Linked DNA regions of Homo sapiens: regions 1, 2, 3, 4 and 6 are each linked to region 5. Evidence: promoter capture Hi-C in 16 types of primary human blood cells and fetal thymus (Javierre and others, 2016). All regions are on one chromosome and are shown on one strand. Each heading gives the region's core, a stretch centred on a gene start or on the middle of the fragment in contact. The rest is flanking DNA. Distances are from core to core; before and after follow the strand shown.

Region 1 (2,700 bases), core at 98-2,597, 350 kb after region 5:
TCTCAGGAACCTCCTGGAAGCCCCCCACAGCTCCCTGGGGCTGGTAACCACACCCCTGAGGCTTCTTGCTCTGGTTTTGTCTCTGTTTTAAGAGTGTAAGCTCACAGAGAAGTGTTTCCTATACTCCAAGTGCATTGAGAACACAAGGTACCTGCTTGTTCTGGTAAGGCTGAGTATTTTTGTTTTGTTTGTTTAATTTTTGAATTTTAGAGTTATCTATAGGATAGAAAAAGATATTCTCCTTCATTTTCTACTAACATCTTTTTTCAGTTCTGCCTTTCATGGTTGCATTTTATTCTATTTGAAGATTTTTTTCTCTGCATGGAGACCTGATATTCTCAACACCACGTATCAATCACAGACTCCCACTTGTGGGTCCACTTCCAGCATGAACAGAAAGAAGGGTTCCTGAAGCTCCTTCTGGCTGCCCCATCTCACCCATTGGTCCGTGTACTCCTTTACTCCCGTCTCACCCGCCGGTCCGCGTACTCCTTTACTCCTGTCTCACACCTTTCAACCGTCTGCCTTAGTAACTGTAGAGGGGGTTCCTTCCTGTTGGCGCTTCTTCCCAAGAATTGTAGTAGGAATTCAGGGAATTTTATTTTTCCATCCAAATTTTGGAAGCAGTTGTCCCCATTGCTAAAAATTCCCGCTGGAAGCTTCCTTTTGAATCACATTAATTGTACAGGGTACTTCAGTAAGAATGTTACTTCATTCTTACTGTTCATTCTCCCTGTTCCCTAAGAATGTTACTTCAGTAAGAGCTGGCTGGTCCTGGGAGGGGCCCTCGAAGGGCCAGCAAGGCTCCAAGGCTCCAAGGCTTCAAAGCACTAGAAAATACAAAAAAAAAATTTTTTAAATGGATGATGTGGCATGGACACTTTATAATTTTGAGAACGATTTTTCACCAACATGGTTATTCTACCATTTATTTAGATGTTCTTTCATGCCCTTTGATAGCATTTTAAATTTTTCTACATAAAGATTCTGTATTTTTGTTAATTCCTTGATGCTTCATACTTCTGCAGTGATGTAATAATCGTTTCAAAAATTACTCTTGGGCCGGGCGCGGTGGCTCATGCCTGTAATCTCAGCACTTTGGGACGCCGAGGTGGGCGGATCATCTGAGGTCAGGAGTTCGAGACCAGCCTGGCCAACATGGCAAAACCCCATCTCTACTAAAAATATGACAATTAGCCAGGTGTGGTGGCACACGCCTGTAGTCCCAGCTACCCGGGAGGCTGAGGCAGGAGGATTGCTTGAACCTGGGAGACAGAGGTTGCAGTGAGCCAAGATCACGCCACTGTACTCCAGCCTGGGCAAGAACAGAGCGAGACTCTCTTTCAAAAAAAAAAATTACTCTTGACAGTATGGATTATATGGAGAACCACTACTGCTTGTGTAGAGGTTGTATGAAGACAGACCCCAGGGTACAAGAGGACCTGTGGATGTTCCAGATGAGGAGTGCACAGCCCCAGAGTGAGGGACTCCATCATGTACAATGGATGGACTTCCTATTCAACCCACAATCATGACAAACAGAAAATTGTGGTGGTTTTCAGTCACTACAGACTGAGATGGTTTGTTAAGCAGTGATAGTGTCTTTCAAAGAGCAGATATTTTAAATTTTGATGAAGTCCAATTTATCAGCGTTTTCTTTTAGGGATCATGGTTTTGGTATCCTCTTTTATAAATATTTACCTGCATCAAGGTCATTCAGATTTTCTTACTTCAGAAGTTTTACAGTTTTGGCTTTACCATTTAGGTCTGTATTCCATTTCAAGTTGACATTTGTACACGGCATAAAGTAAAGTGGAGGCAGAGGTTTTTTAGTTTCAAATGTTTTCGTCTGAATATTCAACTGTTTCGGCACCATTTGTTGAAGAGAATATTCTTTCTCCATTGAACTACCTTGACAACTTTGTAAAAAAATTAAGTGGCCATATATGTATAGTTGAGTCTATTCCTGGACTCTGTATTTTGTTCCATGGATCTGTACATCTGCAACTGCCAACATCACACTATACTGATTACTAAAGCTTTATATTAGTCTTGAAATTAGACTGCACTGCACTGGAGTGCAGTGGCCCGATCTCGGCTCACTGCAGACTCCGCCTCCTGAGTTCAAGCGATTCTCCTGTCTCAGCCTTCGGAGTAGCTGGGACTACAGGCATGCACCAGCACGCCCAGCTAATTTTTATATTTTTTAGTAGAGACGGGGTTTCACCATGTTGGCCAGGCTGGTCTCGAACTCCTGACCTCAGGTAATCTGCCCGCCTTGGCCTCCCAAAGTGCTGGGATGACAGGTGTGAGCCACCATGCCCAGCCAAAATTTTAGAATCATTTTGTCAAGAAACTGAAGTATCCAGGAACAAACAAACAAAAGGTTGGTGGGATTTTTAATGAGATTGTGTTGAATCTATTGATCAATTTGGGAAAATTGCCATCTTAGCAATATTGAGTTATCCATCCATGAGCATGGTATACAGATCATTTATTTAGGTTTTCTTTAATTTCCCTCAGCAATGTTTTATAATTTTCACTGCATAGGTCTTACATAGGTTTTCGAATTCTGTTCCTATTTCATGTTTTGATGCTGTTATAAATGATACTGCTTCTTAATTTCAATTTCCAGAAGTGTGTTGCTCGTATATAGAACTACAACTGATTTTATGTATTTACTTTGTAGGCATTAACCTT
Region 2 (2,700 bases), core at 201-2,700, 290 kb after region 5:
GAAGAAACGCTGACGCCTCCAGCCTTCCGGCCTGGCAAGCTGTCCCCGCGTTCACACCCTCTTCCCGGGGCTCTGCCTCTACCCCATGGACCGGGTCTGCTCCAGGCTCTGGAGACCCCATCCTCACCCTCCACTCTCCCTCCCCTGGGCCTCATCCCACAGCGCTGCCGCACGCGGCCACCCTGTCTTCTGTGGTCTACGTTTCTCTCCTGCTTTTAGATTTGCTGAATCAAACATCTGCAGACGAAATCCACGTTGGTGCTGCTGGAGCCTCAGAACGGGCCGGGTCAAAGCTTCAGGGCCACGGCCTCCAGCTCCTCGGCCGACCTGGATCCCACTCAGCCCCCAGAGAGCAGTGCCTCCTGCCCCCTAGTGGTTGCAAGGCTGCTTCAGAGGGGACAACCTGACATCTGTGTCCATTTGGACATGAGAACTGCAGATGCAGACTTTCATCCTCGGAGCCTCGTGTAGATGCTGCACGGGAAACGCAGAGGTAGGACTGAGGCTACCACAGGCAACAGACTTCAGGTTCTCACTGTCCACTCTCTGAGCCGCTGGAAGTTTTACCAGGGCCACATCTTAAGGTTTTACACAGTAATGATAACGAAAAAGAACAAAAACAAGGGGCCCCAAGGCGTATGAAGCACATCGGTGCGCTGCGCATCCGGAGTCCTGAGCACCGGCGTGTGCCTCTGGGGTCCTAGGTGCTAGGAGTTCTGTGTCCACAGTCAGCCTGGGGGGCAGCTTCCTGGATCTCTGTGTCCCAAGAGCAGCACGCTGGTGCACTTGCCACGCTCTCTCACACGAGACTGCTCCGTGGAAGCCCTTCCTGCTACATGCAGTCCCCCCAAAATGTGCCAGGCTCCCAGAGCAGCAGCAAAGCACAATGGCCATGACTTCAGGAAATGATGACACCATGAAAGGTATAGGCTGCAGAAAGGGACATGGGGAAGCAGCCTGCAAGAAGGTGGGAGGAAGGCAGGGCATATGCCGTCAGGGCGGAGCTGCTGAGGGTGGAGGTGAGGCGGGACCCTGGTGTCGCCGTGGGGACGCAGCCATATCAGCGGCCTGGAAGCCTGTGAGAAGTGATCACCCATCCTGCCCCCAGGTGGTCACTGTAGGGCAGCCTAGGCCTCACCCATCGCCTGGTTCACCTGAGAAAGACCTCCTAGTGGCACATACCCCACCCCAAGCAGGGACCCGGTGCACACTGTCCTCCCCAGTGGGCGTCCTCAACCCTACCACAGCCAGTTACCCTGCCCACCTGCAGGTGGGGCCTGTGCAGGAGGAAGGTCGGGCTCCACAGCCCATTGTTCATGTTGAGAAACAAGGCAACTGCCACCCCCACCGCTGCTGTCATTCGTTCCAGGTTATACTTGGTGGCTCTACAGCAGGGGCTGGTGGGGCCAGCAGAACGGGGGGCGGTGGCTCATGCCTGTAATCCCAGCACTTTGGGATGCTGAGGTGGGCGGATCACTTGAGGCCAGGAGTTTGAGACCAGCCTGGCCAACATGGTGAAACCCTGTTTCTTCTAAAATTACAAAAATTAGCTGGGTTTCATGGCACGAGCCTGTAATCCCAGCTACTTGGGAGGCTGAGGCACGAGAATCACTTGAACCTGGGAGGCAGAGGTTGGTTGCAGTGAGCCAAGATTGCACCACTGCACTCCAGCCTGGACAACAGAGCGAGACTCCATCTCACAAAAATTAAAAAAAAAAAAACAACAGGGCACAGTGAAAGCAGGGCCAGCAGGGGCCGCAGGGCCACAGGGCCTGGCTCAGATCAGGGGCCCTAGGAGGCAGGCTGCCCAGGCCTGGAGGAGGCAGGGAGGTCAGGCTTTCTTACACAGAGCTGCCAAATGTTGAGGTCATCGAGTTCATCCTGCCTGGGGAGACCCCCACAAGCCACCTTTTCATGTGGGGACATTCCCCAGTGTTGCTATGGAGAGGGTGTGCTGGCATCAGAAGCAAGAGAAGGGAGTTCTTGGAGCGGTGAGAGACATGCAGCTTCTTGACTCACACATCAGGCCCTTGAGAGTCTGGCTAATGTGAGTCACACCCTGTGAGAAGCCTTGGTAAAGTTGTGCCTCTGTACAGGCAAAGCCGGCCCAGCTCTATCCCAGATGAAATCCACATTGGTGCTGCTGGAGCCTCAGAATAGGCCAGGCCAAACCCTCAGGGTTACCTGGCCTCCCGCCCTCCAGGCCTGACCCAGACCCCACTCAGCCCCCAGGGAGCAGCGACTCCCTGTGGTGAGGCAAGTCCTGAGGGCTTCCCAGGAGTCTGCAGCTGGGCTGGGACCCCAGACTCCCCCAGTGGTGATGACTGGGCTCTGACATGTTGTAGCCCCTGGGGTTAGCTGAGGTGGGCAGCTCCTAAGCCGTGCTTTCTTCACCAGTCCAGTCTGAGGGGGAGAGAGGACAAGGTGTGTGGCCCCTGTGTTAGGTGCCCTGTAGTGTGTGATGGTGTGTGACACCACCAGCCCCACCCAGGTGCCCCAGGACCCAGGAAGAACCTCAGCCATGCTTTCTGATGAGTGTGGATTGCTAATCCAGGAAGAAATAAATCTGGGAGTTTTCTGGGCATTTTACAAACAACAGCTAGCATAAAAAGCTTACGTAAAAATAGCAGTTGGGCAAATGATCAATTAACTGATATTATAAGGAACTAGAGAAATGAACAATGGTGCTGACGTGACTGC
Region 3 (2,700 bases), core at 130-2,629, 490 kb after region 5:
ACATCACTAAGCTAAAGGGAAGAGTCAAGTTGGGAACTGCTTAGAGCAAACCTGCCTCCCTTTCTATTCAAAGTCTCCCCCTGCTCACTGAGATGAATGCAGATCTGATTGCCTCCTTTGGAGAGGCTCATCACAAGCTCAAAAGAACGCAGCCATCTGTCTCTTACCTACCTTTGACCTGGAAGCCCTTCCTCGAGTTGTCCCGCCTTTGCTTTGAATTGTCCCACGTTTCCAGACCAAACCAATGTTCATCTTACACATGCTGATTGATGTCCCATATCTCCCTAAAATATATAAAACCAAGCTGTGCTCTGACCACCTTGGGTACATGTCGGCAGGACCTCCTGAGGCTGTCACAGCTGCGCAGCCTCAACCTTGGCAAAATAAACTTTCTAAATTGAGACCTGTCTCAGAATTTTGGGGTTCACAGCATGCAGCCAGCAGACCTGGTGATGAAGGAGGCTAAGATCTGGCCACATGAATCTGAGGCTCATGTGTATCTGAGGCATGATGAGCCAGCAGGGTGGGGACAGGGTTTGTGCAAGAGAGCTGGGACCCTGAACTTGTGGGCTTGTGTGAGTGCCAGAGCTGGGGGCATGGTGAACCATGCATCCTGGGTATGTGGCAGTAGGGCAGTGACTTCCCTGGCCCTCTACGCCTCTGTAGGGCCTCAGCTATCTGGTAAGGGCTGTGTCTAAGACAGACCCCTGACCATGGTCCTGCCCAGCCTGTTCCCGTGGACCCTGCCAGCATCAGGATTTCTTGGCTGCCTAGTCAAGTGCCATACCTCTCAGAGGAGAGGACAGGGAGGGGCCTGGGGTCTACAGAAGGAGGCTTCAGCTAAAAAGAAGACTTGTGCCACAGAGAACGGCACGGCAAAGAAAGCCGGGGGCACCAAGCTCTGAGGACGCACATCTGCAGAAGCCCAGCAGCTGCACACCGGCTCCCTCCAGCCCTTTCCACAGCACACAGAGAGCCGGGGGTTCCCAGGCCTGGAAACAGGACAGAGTGTGGACCCCCTTTCCTCAGGCCAGGGTTTGCCTTGTCACGTCCATTGTGTAAAGCTGAGGATAAGGGTGAAGGGTAAGGGCTGAGTACTGTGGAGGCCCTGTCCATCAGCACTCTCAGCTTGAGGAAGGTGATGAGCAGGGCCCACCCCCCATTCACCCCTAAACCCCACTTGTCTACCTTGGACCTGGACGAGCAAAGCTGGCTCAGGCACAGGACTCCCTGGGTGTTTGAAGCTTTCCACCCTCAAGCAGGGGCTGTGAGCATTGCAGGCTTGCCAAGCACAGATGTGCACTGCACGGAGTGGGAAGGAGACAGTGTATAGAAATCTTCAGCCAGATTCTGTTCATCGCAATATAAAGATGGCCTTGTGCTCAGGACACATAAGTCACAGGGAAAGTTCAAAAGCTGAGAATGTAGGTGTCTACTTTGGAATTCTATTATCTTAGGTAATATCTAAAAGCAAGACAAATGCTTACAGCAGGCTAGCAGCATGAAAGAAAAGTGAAGCTTCTTAAGGAGAGTTGGGATGATGACATACTGTGGTCAATTTTTAATGCTCTTACAAAGGAAAAGAAGCACAGACAATAAATAGTGCCAAATGCAGTTAGTCACACACGTGTGTGGCTCCCACATGCACATGCACTCACCCCATCAGCTGACCTGCCCACCATCCTGGGAGTCTAGTCTGCAGCTGAAGGCTCATTTGCAAGAGGAAGAGGTTCTGGTGATGGTGACTCAGCTACTTACAGAAAAGTCTTGATCACACATTGAGACATTCATGACACGTTTCCATATTTCCAAATCCATTGTCATCAGGTACATAATTAATTGTAACATTGCTAACTCTGGAAGAAGAAGGAGTTTCCATAATTTATTCATAAGACGAAGTCACCTGTTTGAAGAGCCTTGAGATACTCCATTGAGGGGCTCTCTTTTAAGCATCACTTCTCCTTCCCAAATGTTGGAGGACAAAAGAACTTTCCTTTCCAAATTTGGAAACAGTAGAACTTAATCCTACCTGAATGTGTTCTCCCTTCCTGGGACCAGTGAAAGTACCCAGGTAGAAGCAATAAAGGTTTTCTGGGAAAAGTAGACCCCTTCTGATTCCTGATTCCTGAGAGATGGAAGGCGGGTGGGAATGTGGGTATCATGGGGTGGATAATCGGCTCTTCTGCAACCTTTTGGGACTCCTCCTTGGGCCAGGTTTGGCTCATACATCAGCCCTGTAAGGGGGCCAAGAGAGAATTCTGTGTTTGGCGTGCAGAGATAGAGATGAGGGTGTTTCATCGCCATTGTTCAGTGAATTGCCCAAGCATGGACTGCGTGGTTAGGAAAGATAGAGAAGCTTTGTATTCCTCTGTGACATTGACCAGTAATGTCATAAACCTGAGCTGGAAGAGTTTTCTTGATTTCATGCTTGAGGTACCAGGCACAGCATCTGGCCGCAGCACCAGAAGCACCAGCTCCTGCCCAAACAGGCTCAAGGCCTCATAGGTTGAAGTTGGAGGGCATTTCTGTTTTCATGAGCCAGCCATATGCTGGAGAAACTTAGGGTGGCTGATGGATTTCATTCATGGCGCTTCTCTTAAAGTGATCGCTTGAAAACGGATGGTGCTGTGTCCATGGGAGGCACCCCAGGCCTCCCAAGTGCTGTTGCAGAGCAACTCCCAGAGTCTCGGGCGAGGGGCG
Region 4 (2,700 bases), core at 56-2,555, 270 kb after region 5:
CAATTCTAAAATAAAACCTAAAATAATTTCACTTACAATAGCATCCGAAACAAAATGCTTGGGGATAAACCGTATCCGAGACTTGTGCACCGAAAACCTAGAATCCATTGCTGTGAGAAACTTTTGAAAGTCTAGACAAGCAGAGGAGTGTGTATGTTTATGACTGAAAGGCTCAATATTAATGAGATGTCAGTTCTTCATAAATTGACATACAGATTCAATGCAATCTCAATCAAAATTCTAACTTGCTTTTTTGAAGAAATTAACCAGCTGGTTCTAAAATGTGTTTGGAGATGTGGGTGACCTAGAGTAGCCAAAAGAATCTTGAAAAAGAACAACATTGGAGGACCTAGGAGATGCCTTTCATGATTCCACCATCCTAACAAAACTAATTGGACTTTTTTTCTGTAATTATCTCGGCATTTGTGTCTTTTTAAAAACAGCCTTGCTGAGGTGTAATGGATATGCAATATTCCAAGTGTACGATTTGGTGAGTGACTGATGGGGTCATGGCAACGCGATCACACAGAAGATGATGGCGGTGCTCCTCCCTCGCTGACTTCCCTCTGTCTGTGTCTCTTTACCTCTTCCCATCCCCAGGCAACCACTGATTTGCTCTTTTTTTTTTTCTTTTTGTGAGACGGAGTCTCACTCTGTCACCTAGGCTGGAGTGCAGTGGCACGATCTCAGCTCACTGCAGCCTTTGCCTCCTCAGTTCAAGCAATTCTCCTGCCTCAGCCTCCCAAGTAGCTGGGATTACAGATGCCCGCCACCACACCCAGCTAATTTTTGTATTTTTAGTAGAAACAGGGTTTCACTATGTTGGCCAGGCTGGTCTTGAACTCCCAACCTCAAGTGATAAGCTCGCCTTGGCCTCCCAAAATGCTGGAATGATTTGTTTTCTATGATTACAGAACAATGTGTTTTTAATAGAATTTTATATAAATAGAATTATACAGTAAGTACTGTTTTCTGGGTCTGTTCTTTTGCATTCAGCATATTTGAGAAGAATCCACATCATTGCATCGGCAGTTAATTCCCTTTTAGTTATTTGTAGTATCCATTGTGTGGATATGGGATATGATGTACTTGGCTTTTCCATCTGCCTATTGATGGACATCTGGCTGTTACAAATAAAGCTACTATGAACATTTGTGTGCAAGTCTTTGAACATAGGCTCTCATTACTTTGGGGTAGGTAAGAAGTACTTAGTTGTGGAATGGCTGGGTCATTTGGTAGATATATGTTTAACTATTTTTTTAAAAACTGTTAAATTCTTTTGCAAAGTAGTTGTATCATTTTATATTTCCATGAACAGTGTATGATAATTTTAGTTACTTCATATTCTAATGAATACTTAGTATGGTCAGTCTTTTAAATTTTAGACATCCTAATATGTTTACAGTAATATCTCCTATACTGCTCTAATGAGCGTGATCTTTGAACAATTTCTCATGTGTTAGCTGCATCAGTGCCACTTCGTGTTAAGTGTCTGTTCAAATCTTTTGCACCTTTGGGTTGTTTAATTGAGCTTTGAGAGTTCTTTACTATTCTGGATACCAGTCCCTTATCAGATGGGTACTTTGCAAATATTTTTCCCAGTCTTGGACTGTCTTTTCATTCTCTTAATAGATTCTTTCAGAGAAGAGTTATTAATTTTGATGAAGTCTAATTTATCCATTTTTCTTTCACAAATCCTGCTTTTAGTGTTGTATTTAAGAAATCTTTACCAAATTCATGATCATCAAGATTTTCTCCTAAGTTTTCCTCTAAACTTTTTAAAATTATAGATTGCATATTTACACATAGAATGCATTTTTAAACTAGCTTGGTGTAAGACACCAATTGAAGTTCACCACTTTACCTCCGAAGAGCCAGTTGTTCAGTGTTCTGCTGAGTTGCTTTTGCACCTTTGTTGAAAAGTCAGTTGTATGTATGTGTGTGGGTTTATTTCTGGGCTCCCTGTTTTATGATCTGTTAATCCATTTTGATGCTAATACCACACTTGCTGTGGACTGAATTGTTTACCCCCAAATTCATAGGTTAAAGCCATAACCCCCGCAAGGTGACTTTATCTGGAGATAGGGACTTTAGGAGGTGATTAGGTTAAATTAAATTGTAAGGGTGGGGTCATAACCCAGGAGGACTGTGGCCTTATAAGAAGAGGAAGCTCTCTCCATTTTACTTTCTGCCATGTGAAGATAGAGTAAGAAGGCGGCCATCTGCAAGCCAGGAAGAGAGGCCTCACCAGGAACTGAATCAGCTGCCTTGATGTTGGATTTCCAGTCTCCAGAACTGTGAGAAACAAATGTCTGCTGTTAAGCCCCCAAATCTGGTGTATTTTGTTGTGGCAGCCTGAGGAGATTAAAATGGCACTATCTTCATTATGGTCCTTTTGTAATACATTTTTAAATCAGGTAATGTAAGTCAGACAACTTTGTTCATTTTCAAAGTTGTTTTGCATATTCTCGGTCCTGTGCTTTTTCATATGAATTTTGGAATCAACTTTTCAATTTCTTCCAAAGTCCCGCATGGGATTTCTTCGGGTGGAGGCTGCCATCAATTTTTCATCATTATTCCTTTCTGAGGCAGGCTTCATGTCTAGATTTTCTTCTAAGTTCTGATTTAGCCAAATTCCAAAAGGTTTGATATGTTGTTTTGTTTTCATTCAGTTCAAAATATTTTCTGATTTCCCTTTTG
Region 5 (2,700 bases), core at 12-2,511:
CCACAGATCCGTTCCTCACCCCTTTGCTGTAAAATGCGTTTCTTGGTCAGGAACATCGTGTGGGAAATTATAACATCTGAATAAGGCGTTCGGAAAGACTGTGGGCGACAGTGCTGAAGACAGCCCTGGAGTAAGGGATGGTGACAAGTCCCAGACAAGCACCCACCCCAGAGAGAATAGCTCTGCTCTCCCCACCGTAGAAAAGCCCAGTTTTGGCCGGGCGCGGTGGCTCATGTCTGTAATCCCAGCACTTTGAGAAGGCCAAGGCGGGCAGATCACGAGGTCAGGAGTTCGAGACAGCCTGACCAACATGGTGAAACCCTGTCTCTACTAAAAATACAAAAATTAGCCGGGCGTGGTGGCTGGCACCTGTAATCCCAGCTACTCAGGAGGCTGAGGCAGGAGAATCACTTGAACCCGGGAGGTGGATGTTGCAGTGAGCCGAGATCCTGCCATTGTACTCCAGCCTGGGTGACAGAGCGAGACTCTGTCTCAAAAAAAAAAAGAAAAAGAAGAGCCCAGTTTCCATTGGCCGCCACCGTGGCTGCGCCCTGCAGTGACGCTGTGACCAGAGCCACCTCCATGAGAGAAAACGCTTGCTGGGGAGCCCTCGTGTTCTCCCCAGTGCCACTGTGGCCACCCATCCCCAAGCTCTCGCAGGAAGGATGGGGCAGCTGGGAAGGCAGCATATTGTCCATTCTCACATGGAGAGCCCCAGTGCCCGGGATGGTCCTCAGTGAGCATTCACAGGGCGCGGCGTCCTCCAGCCGTGAGCATTGGATAGGCTGATGTACACCTCTGCCCCGACCACCCTGCCACGCCTTTCCACGGGTGCTCCTCCCTCCTTGATGGTCTCGTCAAACAGCGGCCGTCCACGAGTCAGCGTGCATCCATGCCTCTGGCCGTCTCTCCTCCAGTGGAGGCGAGCAACTCACTTAGTGTGGACATCCTGCCTCCCAGGGCATGTCCCTTCCCCAGCACCTTCAGGACCACCCGTGCCTGGGATGTGGGCCCACAAGCTGCCGCAGCCACACAAAAGCCACCCAGACACCGAGGGGCAAGTAGCACCAGTGCATTGGCAGCCTGCAGCTCACCTGCTGAGCGGGTCAGGATGTGACACGGGCGGTCACTGGAAGGCAGAGGGGCCCCCCAGCCTTGAGCCTCCTTCGCGGTAAGTGGTGCAGGGGCAGCCATTTCTCTTTCACTTCTCACTGTCTCCAGAACAGGAGAAATATCCGGAGCTCAGGCCTGTGTGTGTTTGTGAGGCCAGAGGTCAGTGAAGCCTCACAAACTCAGGATGTGCTCCTCCTAACCCTCATGTCTCCTCCTCTTCCTCCTCCTCACCCGTCCCCTCCTCGTTCCTCCCACTGGGATATCAGAGTCAGAGAGCTACAGGGGTAGAAGGGATGTGGGGGTCACACGGGCGTCCGCTCGAGCCCTGCCTGGGCGCTGGAGGAGGGCCTGGCCATGTTTTCTTTCCTAGAAACTCTCATTTGATCCTCCGAAGGGAGAGAAGGGACGGGAAGGAACAGAGGCCTTGGGTGTCGGCCTAATTCAGTCCCAAGGCCACCCCCACCTGCCATCCTTGGGGCCACTGGTGACTCCACATTGCAGAGCAGCTGCTGGCTGAGGCTGGGCTTGGCGGTGCTCACGTGCCTGGGGTGTGAAAGCTGCACGCAGCCCTCATCTGGCCAGGTCCCCGGCTCCGACTCACACCGTGCTTGGCCAGTGTTTAACTCACACAGCGTGATGCTCTCCACTTCATGCCTGGGGACGGACGTCACTCCTATTCCATGTCTTGTCTTTCCACAGGACTCACGTACGGACTCACATGGCTTTGTGTGCAAAAGACGACTACACGGTCGTAAACGAGGCGGCCCACCCCAGCTCTCCCTCAGGTGAGGCTCAGCTGGGGGCAGACCAGGCCAGCCACGTCCTGCAGGGCGAGAGGCACCCGGCCCGCTGGAGTCCCACGCAGCCCTGACATGCCCAGGACCCTGCTCACCCCACACCCTCGCTCGGGCACCCACCCCCTGCCTGCAGTGGGGGCTTTCCCTGGGGCCTCAAGACTGCAGGAGAGGCAGGCGGGGCCTGTGGGGTTGTGTTTCTTCTCTCCAGAGTTCCTGAGTCCGGAGCACATAGGCAGAAGGAGCTGCTCCCCATGTTCCCAGGGCTGCTCCTGCAGGGGCTCAGGAGTGGGGACCGGGGGGTTTTGTCAGAGCAAGTCCCCAGGGGCCAGGCCCAGTCATCTCGCTCCAGGCAGCCTGGGCCTGGGGCCCTGACCACTTGCCCCGCACGACTCAGGGCCCCCTCCGCACCTGGACACGGGCCCCACAGGCCACGCTCAGGCCACCCCAGGGTCAGGAACACAAGGCTACGCTGGGAAGTGCCAGCGTCTCGCACATAGAATTGGTGTTGCTTCTCTCTTCTCAATATCCACCCCGAATACCCCATTTTCCACATTTCCTATATTAAACTGTATTATTTTGTAGTTAGAAAAAAGTTTTATTTCTAAAGATGGCAGCTTCTGTCTCTGTACCCGTGGAGTTAGAATCAGGAAGAGAATGTGGCTCCCGTCGCGTGGCACCTGTGGTCAGGGTGGGGGCACCCAGCTATAAGCCACATCATTCGTGTTCAGTCCCTGTCAGTTTCATGAGAAGTGGCAGCCGAGAGGGCAGCCCGGGAGGTGCCACCCGAGCT
Region 6 (2,700 bases), core at 84-2,583, 510 kb after region 5:
CTGACTTTTGCCCTGAAAGCAGCTTGGCCTATATGAACAGCCAGGAAAATTGCAGCAGAGCCCAACTCTCCCTGTGATCCATTTATCACAGTCTCTCTCAGCCTGACAGAGACAGAGGCGCAAAGCAAGATGCATCAGCGTGAGCATCCTGTGTGGACAATGAGCACGTGGTCTGGTAATATCCACCCACTCAGGCGTGAGCCCCATCTGTTGAAACACAGATGCAAATACGGTAAGAAGTTTCCCAACACCACTGCCGCGCAGCACCTGCTTCACACTGAGATCCACAAAATGTGTACTTCAGTGCCGTGAACCACCCGTTCTGTGCTAATATTTTGCTGTAGTGTTTTGGGTTGGTTTCTTTCTTGGCTGGGCACAAAGGTGTATCAGTTGATCTTATGAATCTCTGAAGTGCAGAAGGAAACCTTATGCAGGAGATGAGCCGAGGATGGTGATTTTGTCCAAGGCTTTTCTTAGGGGACACCCTGAGCATTCCACAGGAAGGGCGAACTGTCAGACATGATTCGCTCTGTCTCTTTTAACTCTAAATGCTTCCAGGCCTCTTACGATAAGCTTTGTTGAAGCAGGCTCTGCGGAGGCACTTCACATCCTAAACATTCTATTTCCTTAAGCACTGCATACCAGTGAGTAAGATTAAGAGATGACAAATGGGAAGAAAGATGGCTGCAATAAATAGAAAATTGTAGAAAAGACACAGACTTTCCGGCCTCTGAGTGCACATGTGAGTGGTTGTGTGTGCATGTGTGTGAGTGCATGTGCGCGTGTGCTGAGGGTATATGTATAAGCCTCAGTGCGTAACCAGATGCGTGTGTGTGAGCCCAGGTGCGTGTGTGGTGAGGGTATATGTATAAGCATCAGTGCATAACCAGAAATAAATAATTTAATTATTTTCTCCATCAGAAAAAGTTGTAGCTGTTGAGATACATACCAGATGACCTTTATGCAAGAATATCGCAGCGGAGTCATCCCTGTGTCCACACAGCCCGGGTTTCTGACTCTGACGGTGACATAAGGGGTGTTCTGTGAGAAGGCATACTTGTCTCCATGGTGTCACTCTTAGCAACATCCCAGAGTACACCCAACTCCTGGAGCTGCCCTGTGACTGGCCTGCACAGCTGGCCGGGCCCCTTCCGCTGTCTCCTGCGTTGAGGTAGGAGCAAGGAATGCATGGACCTGGAGGAGCTGGGGACAGGGCGCTGCTGATCTGGGAAGCTCACCTGGCCAGCAGGTGCCTCTGACCCCTCCCACTGGGGATGTCTGGAGGCTGAACAGCAGTGTGGGCTGAGAGCAACCAGGCCGTAGGGCAGCCCCCGAGGCTGTGGAATGTCCTTGGGCTGCTGGCTCCCTACTCTCCGGGAACCAGCAAGTGACAGCAGGCTCGGCCTCCTGGAGGAAGAGAGAATCACATGGTATCCCCAAGCCACAGGGGGGCCTTGGAGCATGGCCACAGGGCACATGACCTCAAAGAGCGTGAGAGGCCGGGCGAGGCTGTCCTGCCAGGTGAGCTGCCTGGTGACAGGGAGTGTGAGCCCCACGCATGGCTGATTGAAAGATGCTCTGCTGGAAAAGGGGCACCCAGAGCTGCTCTCCCTGGGCAGGGTCGGGGGTGCCCCAGTGCTGGTGGATCTCGAGGGGCAGGAAGAGTGGGGGCACCTGTGAGGTTCAGTTCAGCCAGTTGTGCCCCAGCCAAGGTGGGGCGAGTCCACACCCTCCCTGATGCTCAGGTCTCGCCTTGGCCCTTGCACACCACTCTTGAGGGGGACCCACGTTCTGCCCGCTTTCTCTCTCCCTGGGATCCAAGTACTCTCCCTGGTCAACCCTGGAGGAGGGAAGCCCACCTGAGAGCTGCGCCTGCTGCAGCTGGACGCACTTGTCATTTCCAGGCTGCGCTCCTCTCCAGGGACCCCATGCCGTGTGGTGCAGGCTCCTGCACAGCCTTGGTGTGAAGTACCATCTTATAAATAATCCACTGCCTGCCTCTCCTGCCCCATCACTCCAGCCGCATGGGACAGGTGATGTTTCTAACAGAAGAGGAGCGTGACCACACACAGCAGTCCAACAGGCATGGCCCAGGAAGCTTCCAGTGGCTCTGGTTCCTGGGCCATTCTGGGAGTGGGCCTGGGAACTTGCGTCTCTTCAGGGTCTCCAGACAGTGCTGTTTTGGGCCCACGTTTCTCAGCCCCTACATCACAACGTTATATTGAAGCATGAGGAGCTCTCCCCTGCACCCTCCAGCATGGCTTATTCCACCCTCATGCCTAAGCCTATGTCTTTGCATGTGGGGTCTTTGCATGTGGGGCAGCCTGAACAATGCACACCCCTCTGGGGCTCAGGGAAGACGTCTTGGGCTGCGTTTTCTGCAACGTGGTCTGCCTTCTGGCCTTGATGCCCGGGAAGCTTCTCTTGGAAAAATGCTGAGAGGCAACCTTGGCTCTGCAGGGCAAGCCTGCACCCGGGCTGGGGATCCAGTGTGAGGCTGGGGCTCTGCCCCATGGGCAGCGCACGGCCAGTGGCCACTGCAGAGCCAAAGGCAGTGGTGATGTGGGGTTAAAAAGGCCGTAGCTTCTGGAGCTCACCCACTCCAGTGGTTTTTCTGAGGCCTAAAGCAAGGGCAGCCTTGAGGGTCTCAGTCCTCCATGCCCACCACGCCTCACTCATGCCCCATGCAGGCCCTCACAC

The links. Contacts are between HindIII fragments. The CHiCAGO score rates a contact against its expected background, and 5 or more counts as called.
Region 1: a fragment that was not itself captured here is called in contact with the fragment with the promoter of TERLR1 in region 5 in 1 of 17 cell types (fetal thymus); the score reaches 5.1 in fetal thymus.
Region 2: a fragment that was not itself captured here is called in contact with the fragment with the promoter of TERLR1 in region 5 in 7 of 17 cell types (naive CD4 T cells, naive CD8 T cells, total CD8 T cells and 4 more); the score reaches 8.0 in naive CD4 T cells.
Region 3: a fragment that was not itself captured here is called in contact with the fragment with the promoter of TERLR1 in region 5 in 12 of 17 cell types (monocytes, total CD8 T cells, M0 macrophages and 9 more); the score reaches 11.5 in monocytes.
Region 4: a fragment that was not itself captured here is called in contact with the fragment with the promoter of TERLR1 in region 5 in 1 of 17 cell types (total CD8 T cells); the score reaches 5.6 in total CD8 T cells.
Region 6: a contact is called between a fragment that was not itself captured here and the fragment with the promoter of TERLR1 in region 5, in 5 of 17 cell types (monocytes, naive B cells, total B cells and 2 more). The highest score is 9.4, in monocytes.

Annotation. Positions count from the first base shown.
Region 1 is chr5:1,527,261-1,529,960 of GRCh38, forward strand. No RefSeq gene overlaps it. Among named protein-coding and RNA genes, the nearest start is that of LPCAT1, 4.7 kb to the left of the region's middle. The HindIII fragment of the contact is 1,380 bases long and covers 658-2,037 here.
Region 2 is chr5:1,468,082-1,470,781 of GRCh38, forward strand. The region is part of intron 12 of LPCAT1 (lysophosphatidylcholine acyltransferase 1); the gene reads right to left. Among named protein-coding and RNA genes, the nearest start is that of SLC6A3, 24 kb to the left of the region's middle. The HindIII fragment of the contact is 2,319 bases long and covers 292-2,610 here.
Region 3 is chr5:1,668,895-1,671,594 of GRCh38, forward strand. No RefSeq gene overlaps it. Among named protein-coding and RNA genes, the nearest start is that of MIR4277, 39 kb to the right of the region's middle. The HindIII fragment of the contact is 274 bases long and covers 1,243-1,516 here.
Region 4 is chr5:1,450,239-1,452,938 of GRCh38, forward strand. No RefSeq gene overlaps it. Among named protein-coding and RNA genes, the nearest start is that of SLC6A3, 6.1 kb to the left of the region's middle. The HindIII fragment of the contact is 3,197 bases long and covers 1-2,700 here.
Region 5 is chr5:1,177,344-1,180,043 of GRCh38, forward strand. It overlaps TERLR1 (TERT regulating lncRNA 1), which reads right to left and starts at 1,262. Exons shown (of 5, transcript NR_109911.1): 1 at 1,095-1,262. It overlaps LOC124900189, which reads right to left. Exons shown (of 8, transcript XM_047417960.1): 2 at 2,031-2,700; 3 at 1,095-1,936; 4 at 705-911. The coding sequence starts at 2,463. The coding sequence ends at 1,416. The HindIII fragment of the contact is 15,637 bases long and covers 1-2,700 here.
Region 6 is chr5:1,685,096-1,687,795 of GRCh38, forward strand. No RefSeq gene overlaps it. Among named protein-coding and RNA genes, the nearest start is that of MIR4277, 22 kb to the right of the region's middle. The HindIII fragment of the contact is 1,525 bases long and covers 572-2,096 here.